Regions from separate parts of the Homo sapiens genome. Here regions 1 and 2 are each linked to region 3. The links are contacts of gene promoters, found by promoter capture Hi-C in human tissues and cell types (Jung and others, 2019). All regions are on one chromosome and are shown on one strand. Each heading gives the region's core, a stretch centred on a gene start or on the middle of the fragment in contact. The rest is flanking DNA. Distances are from core to core; before and after follow the strand shown.

Region 1 (2,700 bases), core at 168-2,667, 590 kb before region 3:
TTGCTGAAGAGTCATTTTTTATGAGGAAAAACTTCCCCCCTGTACCCCCAAAGAAAAAGACTTAATTATATCACTCTAGACCCGGGGAATAAGGACCCATTTTGCAGTTAAAAACTGCTTTGAGGCCAGCCGCAGTAGCTCACGCCTGTAATCCCAGCACTTTGGGAGGCTGAGGCGGGAGGATCACTTGAGGTCAGGAGTTCAAGACCAGCCTGGCCAGTATGGTGAAACCCCGTCTCTACTAAAAATACAAAAATTAACTGGTGAGACTGGTGGGTGGTGCACACCTGTGATCCCAGCTACTGGGGAAGCTGAGGCAGGGGAATTACTTGAACCTGGGAGGCAGAGGTTGCAGTGAGCCATGATCTGCCAATGCACTCCAACCTGGGCAACAGAATGAGAATCTGTCTCAAAAAAAAAAACAAAAAAAAACTGCTTGGAAACCAGCTGTAACTTTCAAGATGACCTAGTAAAATTTAGGAAATTTATGCCCAATTAAAATCTAAAACAGTAATATTCTTGAAAATATAGTGTGAGCTGTTCCATATTTGAGCTGATTCTGTGATTGGATAGAACTGTATGTAGCCACTAAAATCTTGAGACGTTGTGAGTGAGAAAGATAAGAGTGTGTTTTACCAGGAAAGAAAGTTTTGGCGCCAGCATGCAGGAGGGAAAAAAAAGAACCCCTGAAAACTGTAAATGCAACCTGCTTTCTATGCTGAGTGAAAAACCTGGAACCCAGGCCTGAGAACTCGCCCTGCCTGAGAACTGGCAAGATGGTATGGGCAGACCCATGGCCCCATAGTTCAAAGTCAGTCACAGCTCTCCTCGGGCTTGCAGAACAAAACACTCAGTAGTGATAATCTTCTCTGCCTAGTATTTAGGGTATGTGGGACTTGGAGCCTGCACGTAAAACAAGCCCAGGGAGCCGTTAAGTGTTTGGGTTTCAGTTGTGGAGGGAAGGGAGGATCTGGGTCCTAGAGTCTTTCTGGGTACAGTTGCAGCCTTTTCTTAGGGCTGGAAGGCTTCCTGGGGAAGTTGGCTGGAGAGGAGGGTACATAACACTTAACGGTCACCCCTTCTAAAATACTGTAATCCAGGCAACAAATCCTTGGGAGATGACAGGGCTTTGTGAGTCAGGGTGGGGGTCACATGAAAAACAAAACAGACTTTACTGCTGTCCAGTAGCAGTCACTAAAGAGCGGGGTGGGAGGGACCCAAAAAAGGTGAAGCTGGGAAGATTGTGGAAATGCCTTTTGTGCTCAGGCTCCCCTTCTCAGCCCTACATCACGGCTGACAGCCTCGTCATTCCTGCCTGCTCCTTGACTGATGTGCTTCGCTGTTCCTCATTCACTCATGTGCATTTCAAGTTTTACTGTGGAATGAAAAGTTTTCATGGAATAATTTCTGTTCCTCTTGAGGAGCCCTCAGAAATCAGAACACAAAATCCAACCCTCAAAGTCACTTGATATAGTTCTTTTGGAGGGTGATGGAGAAGGGTTTAGATAAAGCTTGCCAGCTTCAATGTTCTGCAATCCCCAGTGGCTGCCAGGCCTTTAGGAGTCCTCGTGGCATCTCCAAGGACTACAAATGATCCCCAGCATGAGTCTTCTGTGATACTCTTATCTTAGTCCTGGCCCTGTCATCCTTCTGCTTGAGCTGGCCTCAGACTCTCTTCCACATAGCAACATGTACCTCAAATCCAGAACTTTCTGGCACATTTACATTTTATTTTTATTTATTTATTTTATTTATTTTTTTGAGACAGAGTCTTGCTCTGTCGCTCAGGCTGGAGTGCAGTGCTGTGATCTCGGCTCAGTGCAACCTCCGCCTCCTGGGTTCAAGCGATTCTCCTGTCTCAGTTTCCCGAGTAGCTGGGATTACAGGTGTGAGCCACCATGCCCAGCTAATTTTTTGTATTTTTAATAGAGACAGGGTTTCACCATGTTGGCCAGGCTGGTCTTGAACTCATGGCCTCAAGTGATAGGCCCGCCTCTGCCTCCCAAAGTGCTGGGATTACAGGCATAAGCCACTGTGCCCAGCCCACATTTTTTTAAATTGATGTGTAACAATATTTTTTATATTCAAAACCCTTAATTTTGGACATTCTGCTTTAAGCATATGAAGTTTTTTTGTTTGTTTTTTGTTTTTTTTTTTTTTTTTTTTTTTTTTTTGAGGTGGAGTCTCCTCTGTCGCCTGGAGTGCAGTGGTGCCATCATAACTTACTGCAGCCACAACCTCCCTGGCTCAATTAATCCTCCCACCTCAGCCTCCCAAACAGCTGGGACTACAGGTGTGTGCATCACACCTAGCAATTTTTTTTAATTTTTTTGTAGAGGAAAGGTTTTGCCATATTGCCCCGGCTGGTCTTGAACTCCTGGGCTCAAGTAATCTGCCCACATTGGCTTCCCAAAGGGCTGGGATTAGAGCTGTGAGCCACCAGGCCCAGTGCACATGAACATAGGAAGTTTCTAACAATAGAATATGTTACAAGTGTGGATCTTTGTTAGAAGTGTTGTTTAACAATTAGATTACTGTCATAATTGTCATCTCCACTAGGTGGCATTCTCCTTTCTACTTTGGTTTTTTGTTGTTTTTTTGTTTTGTTTTGTTTTTGAGTAGGAGTTTCGCTCTTGTTGCCCAAGCTGGAGTGCAATGGCGCAATCTCAGCTCACTGCAACCTCTGCCTCCCGCATTCAA
Region 2 (2,700 bases), core at 59-2,558, 920 kb before region 3:
CAGAGTTTATTTAATTCCACGTAAGACTATGATTCAAGGGGTCAATGAAAGGACTGATCGATTTTCAGTCGTTCTGTGACCCAAGAGCCACCTCAGAGGATGTTATTGAAAGAAGAAAAAGCAATGTTGGTCACAGAACTATTCACCAACGTGTGCATAAGGATACAGGACTGAAAAACTCAAGGCTGGGGTCCTCCCACCAGGACACCGTTAATTTCCAACTCAAAAAGCTAGTTCCAAATGCATTTTCTACTTCTGAAGCAGTTAATCTAGTTCCAAATCGGGAAAGGCTTGTTATAATCACATGACAGAGGAAGAGGAACTGGGGTAGAGTGGCAAGTCCCTACCCCCACCCCCACCCCCACCCCCAGGGTGGAGGCGAATGCAGAGAGTTCAACAGGTAATGACAATACAAACTGCAAATGTGGATTCAAGCTAGTGGACAGGGTCAGGGAGCAGAAAACACAGGGACCTAAACTAGTCTCGGGGTGGGGGCTGCCTGAGAAAGCCTCCCCAAGCCAGTGACATTTGAAGGGAGATCAAAGGCTCTCCTGTGGGTGGTCTGGCAGAAGACCACAGTATGCAAATTAAGAAGCTCAAGCTTATATGTTACAATCATCAGAAGTCGCTGAGAGTGACATTCAGGTTTGCATTTTTCAAAAGCTCCTCTGGCTGACTGTGAGATGAACTGCAAGGAGGTGCAGGTGGGTGGGGCAGTGCGGTAGAGAGGAGAGAGTCGAGGTATTTCTGGAGGTAGAATCAAAAGGACTTGGTGATGAGATGCTGCTCAGTGGTCTTCCTCTCGGCCACTGATTTTTTTTTTTTTTTTTTCTGAAAACTGCTTTAGAAAAACTGCTATATTGGCTGGGCACAGTGGCTGATGCCTGTAATCCCAGCACTTTGGGATGCCAAGGCAGGCGGATCACTTGAGGTCAGGAGTTCAAGACCCGCCTGGCCAACATGGTAAAACCCTGTCTCTACTACAAAATACAAAAAATTATCTGGGCACGGTGGCGGGCGCCTGTAGTCCCAGCTACTCGGGGGGCTGAGGCAGGAGAATCGCTTGAACCTGGGAGGCAGAAGTTGCAGGGAGCCGAGACTGCGCCACTGCATTCCAGCCTGGGCAATAGAGTGAGACTCCGTCTCCAAAAAACAAAGACAGGTATCAATCTTATGCTGGTATCCTCCATCTGTCTCTCCAGATCCAGTTACACCTTGCTTTTCTTGCCTTTTTTTTTTTTTTTTTTTTTTTGAGACAGAGTCACACTCTTTGCACAGGCAGGAGTGCAGTGGTGCAATCCTGGCTCACTGCAACCTCCACCGCCCGGGTTCAAATGATTCCCCTGCCTCAGCCTCCCAAGCAGCTGGGATTACCACACCTGGCTAATTTTTGTATTTTTTAGTAGAGACGGGGTTTCATCATGTTGGCCAGGCTAGTCTCAAACTCCTAACCTCAAGTCACCTTGGCCTCTCAAAGTGCTGGGATTACAGGCATGAGCCACTGTGCCCAGCCTGCTCTGACTTTTTGGCTCTGTAAGAACCACATCAACAGGCTCCCTCACTCTCTGGCTCCCAGTGCTATTAATCAATGGGGAGGCCTGCAGAAGGTCAGACGAAGGGAGGGTCAGGTCAGGGCATTCATTCTCCCAGCTCCCACCCTGAGAGTGTCTGTGGACAGTCTTGGACTCTCAATTGAAAGTAAGTCCTTTCCTTCTCCAGGTTTGGGCAACTCCTCCCCCTTCCTTCTCCCTGTCGTAGGCCTCATGGTGGTAACCTGATTACCAGCTGTGGACACTGCATTATCCCTGTGGTTTCTAGAGAAACTTCGCCCACACTGATAGCGGCAGGAGGCAGACAAATGCCTCACAGGGGCGGGTCTCCAGTGAAACCCCACCTCTAAGCCAAAGACAACTGAAAGCCTGAAAGCCACACTACAGGTCAAATCCATGGACCGGACTGAGAACCCATCTTCCCATTTGGTAGGCTTTCCTCTGATTGATCCCCACTCTTCACCTATTTTACATCTACCTACCCTTTCCGAATTGATTTTCTACACTGCCATGCCCATCTTTGAGTGGTGCCTTTGCTTTAGCCTTTCTTTGCATGCCCACAAACCATTCAGCATGCATGCCCCTGTTCTGAGCCCATAAAAGCCCCCACCCAGCCACACTGGGAGAGAAACCACCAGACTTCAGGGGTGGGGAACCACTACCTCCTCCGCTCCTGAAAGCTGTTCACCGCTCAATAAAATTCTTCTCCACCCTCCTCACCCTTAAATTGCCAGTGTAACCTCATTCTTCTCAGACACAGGACAAGACCTTGGGAACTGCTGAACCTGGGAACAAGCCATAACACAGGTGAGCTGGGGCATACCCAGCCCAGCCATGAGCTGAGCTGGTGCGCAACCAAGACTTAGCCTGAGTGGGCTGAGTGTGGAGGTCCCCAGCTGGAGTCAACACCTTGCAAATAGTCTCATTATTAAAATCCTCTCAATTTAAGTGTGTCAGGTGTTCTCTACCAGGACTCAGACTGAAATTAGCCTAAAATCAGTTGTATATGTCTTTTGGAATGCATTAAGGACATGCTCCTTTATATAAAGTGACATTTGTTATGGGGCAGAAAGTATCCAAATTCTACCAACTACTTGGAAGAAGAAAACTATAAAAGAGCCAAACAATTCTGTTCTGTTAACCGCTTTTT
Region 3 (2,700 bases), core at 193-2,692:
CCAGCCTGGGCAACAATAGTGAGATCTCATCTCTACCAAAAATTCAAAAATTAGTCAGGCATGGTGGTGTGTGCCTGTAGTCCCAGCTACTCGAGAGGCTGAGGCAAGAGGATCGCTCGAAGTTACAGTGAGCCATGATCATGTCACTCTAGCCCTATCTAACAACCACCACCACCAAATTTTGGACTTTAAAGGGCTACCACTGAGAAACAGTATCTCTGTAGAAACACTCACTGTTTGTTATTGTTTGTTTTTATTTGGTAGAGATGGAGTCTGTGCTATGTTGCCCAAGCTGGTGTTGAACTCCCGGCCTCAAGTTATCCTCCTGTCTCGGCCTCCCAAAGTGCTGGGATTATAGGTGTAAGCCATCCCAACCCCAGACTCCACCCCTACTGCCACCCGTTGTTTTTTTAAAAGATGGTAGAAATTAAAGCTTCATCTTAGCTTTCGTGACAAGCAAGAGAAAAAAAAAAAAAGAAAATTAAAGCTTCAGTTAGGTCAACCGATTTAACAAGAAAAAATTCTTGACTTGGCATTTTGGCCACTGAGAAAGTCTCACTTTTTTCCTTGCATATTTCCTTGCATATCGTATTTATTGTACATAAATCTTGGCTTCCATCTTCAGAGAGCAAAGTCTTTGGTCTAAAAACTGAGAAAATACTGCTCGATCCTTGCGGTGGGTAGTGATTAGAAGAGGGCAGGACGCGGGTTCCTAGGGTGCAAGTAACGTTCTGTTAATTGATCTGGGTGTTCACTTGGTGAAAAGTCTGGAAGCTGTACCTGCGACATCGCACTTTCCTAATGTACGTTATATTTCAATAAAAGATTTTTTTAAATTGGACTGCTTGAAAGTTATTTTTAAAAATTACATGCTTTTGAGACTTGAGCAGCTGCAAAGGCTCTGTTTTCTATTTTGATCATTCTGTTTCTCGAGATGACCACATCTTTCAGAGGAAATGAGTCAAAGCCACTCTGTCTTGCTTTTCCAGCTGAGCATGTTCTGTTTCAATGAAGTAATGAATGAACTTGGCCGCACCACCCCCAAGCCTACAACAGCAAACAGAGGGCCCTCGGCCAATCAGCAGGCACTCCGGGTTTTCAAGTTGAGTTCAAACAGGACCACCGGAGGCCAATCAGAGTGCGCGGCCCCGCCCCGAACGCCCGGCCGTGACCAACCACGAGGCCGGATGAGCCAAAACACAGCGGCCGGCCAATGCTGGGGAGCCCCACGGCGCCGAGCTCCGCCAATGGGCGCGGCCGGGCGAAAAGAGAAACAGTGAGGGCCCCACAGGCCGCAGGATTCGAATCGAACGTCCTTACGGGAGCCGGGCGCTGGCGGAGCGGCGCCCCGGCCAATCAGCGGCAGTCCCCGAACGTTGGGCCGGCCCAGCCCCGCCCCGCGCTGTTGTTTGTGGTGTCGGCCGGGCCGCGGGAGTCGAACCACAACATTCGCCGGGCGGGCGGCGGCGGAGCGGGCGGCGGAGCGGCGGCAGCAGCGGTGAGCGCGAGCCCCGGAGCCCCGGGCGGCCGGCCTCCCGCGCCCGCGCAGCCCCGCGTCTGCGTCCGGCCGGAGACGCCGGGCCCCGCGCCGCGCCGCGCCATGTCGGTGAACATGGACGAGCTGCGGCACCAGGTCATGATCAACCAGTTCGTGCTGGCCGCGGGCTGCGCGGCCGACCAGGCGAAGCAGTTGCTGCAGGCGGCCCACTGGCAGTTCGAGGTGCGAGCCTGGCCGCCGCGGGGCCGGGCCGCGGGGGTCGGGGACGCCGGGCGGCGGCGGGGGCGGGGAGCGCTCCTGTTGTCGGCCCGGAAGGCGATCGGCGCCCGCGAGCGGGTCTTACGCGGGACCGGGGCCGGGACCGGCTCCCCTCTGCACGTGGGGCAGCCGAGGGTCGGGGGCCGCGGGCCGGGCGCGGAGGCGGGGAGAGCCGGTGGGGGGCCCAGCCGCTGCGTTTCCTGACTCCGCCTGGCCCGCCGTGTCACTGCCCTGTTTGTCCGCAGACCGCGCTGAGCACGTTCTTCCAAGAAACCAACATTCCCAACAGCCACCACCACCACCAGATGGTAAGCGGCGGCGGGCAGGGGCGCGGGCCGGGGCCGCTGTCAGCGCGGCGGTGACAGCCATGTTGCCGGGGAGCGCCGCGCCGCGAATGTAAACAAAGAGCCAAAATGTCTTCCAGGAAAGAGCGGCTCCCGGGCCGGCGCTGGCGCCTCCAACTTTGAGGCCCGCCTCCCGGGCTGCTGCTGCTTGGCCTCGGGACTGGTGCCCGGCACTGGTCCCTGGGGGGAAGCGGCGCCAAAGTTGGGGGGAGGGGGAGAGGGCCGGGGGCCTGGCGAGGGGCTCAGGAGCTGGGGGACCCCAGAGCCAGGGGATGGGGAGGGGGAGAGGGTGATGCCCGGACGTCTGGGGCACTGGGAAGCCCGCGCGAAGGGCCCAGGGAGGGCGATGGGGGTGCTTGTGTTTATGGGGACCCCCTCGTGCTGTTGAGTGGTTTCCCCCCTCCCCCTCCACACACACACACACCCAGCGCTACAGGGAACAGGAAAGGCATGAATCCACCCTGGCTCAGGAAGCCGGGCTCTACCCACAAAGATCTGTTCAACCTTCCGAAGCCCAAGGGGACTGGGAAGTTGGAAGGACATACATCCCCCAAGCCAGGAGGACACACAGATTTTGACCCAAGATAAGGCCAGGAATGT

What was found. Contacts are between HindIII fragments. The study calls those that stand out against the background at their distance.
Region 1: a fragment that was not itself captured here is called in contact with the fragment with the promoter of UBALD2 in region 3 in 1 of the 25 tissues and cell types used here (dorsolateral prefrontal cortex).
Region 2: a contact is called between a fragment that was not itself captured here and the fragment with the promoter of UBALD2 in region 3, in 1 of the 25 tissues and cell types used here (pancreas).

Annotation. Positions count from the first base shown.
Region 1 is chr17:75,672,552-75,675,251 of GRCh38, forward strand. All of the region lies in intron 3 of SAP30BP (SAP30 binding protein), which reads left to right. Among named protein-coding and RNA genes, the nearest start is that of SAP30BP, 6.6 kb to the left of the region's middle. The HindIII fragment of the contact is 5,826 bases long and covers 1-2,700 here.
Region 2 is chr17:75,345,350-75,348,049 of GRCh38, forward strand. All of the region lies in intron 2 of GRB2 (growth factor receptor bound protein 2), which reads right to left. Among named protein-coding and RNA genes, the nearest start is that of SLC25A19, 57 kb to the left of the region's middle. RefSeq lists enhancers at 1-688, 63-342, 1,953-2,012, 2,023-2,102 and silencers at 1,673-1,841, 1,753-1,812. The HindIII fragment of the contact is 8,077 bases long and covers 1-2,700 here.
Region 3 is chr17:76,263,906-76,266,605 of GRCh38, forward strand. It overlaps UBALD2 (UBA like domain containing 2), which reads left to right and starts at 1,443. Exons shown (of 3, transcript NM_182565.4): 1 at 1,443-1,720; 2 at 2,002-2,064. The coding sequence starts at 1,601. It overlaps LOC105371896 (a long non-coding RNA gene), which reads right to left and starts at 1,176. Exons shown (of 6, transcript XR_007065913.1): 1 at 1-1,176. RefSeq lists enhancers at 846-895, 2,156-2,255 and silencers at 1,246-1,545, 1,846-1,985. The HindIII fragment of the contact is 4,971 bases long and covers 1-2,700 here.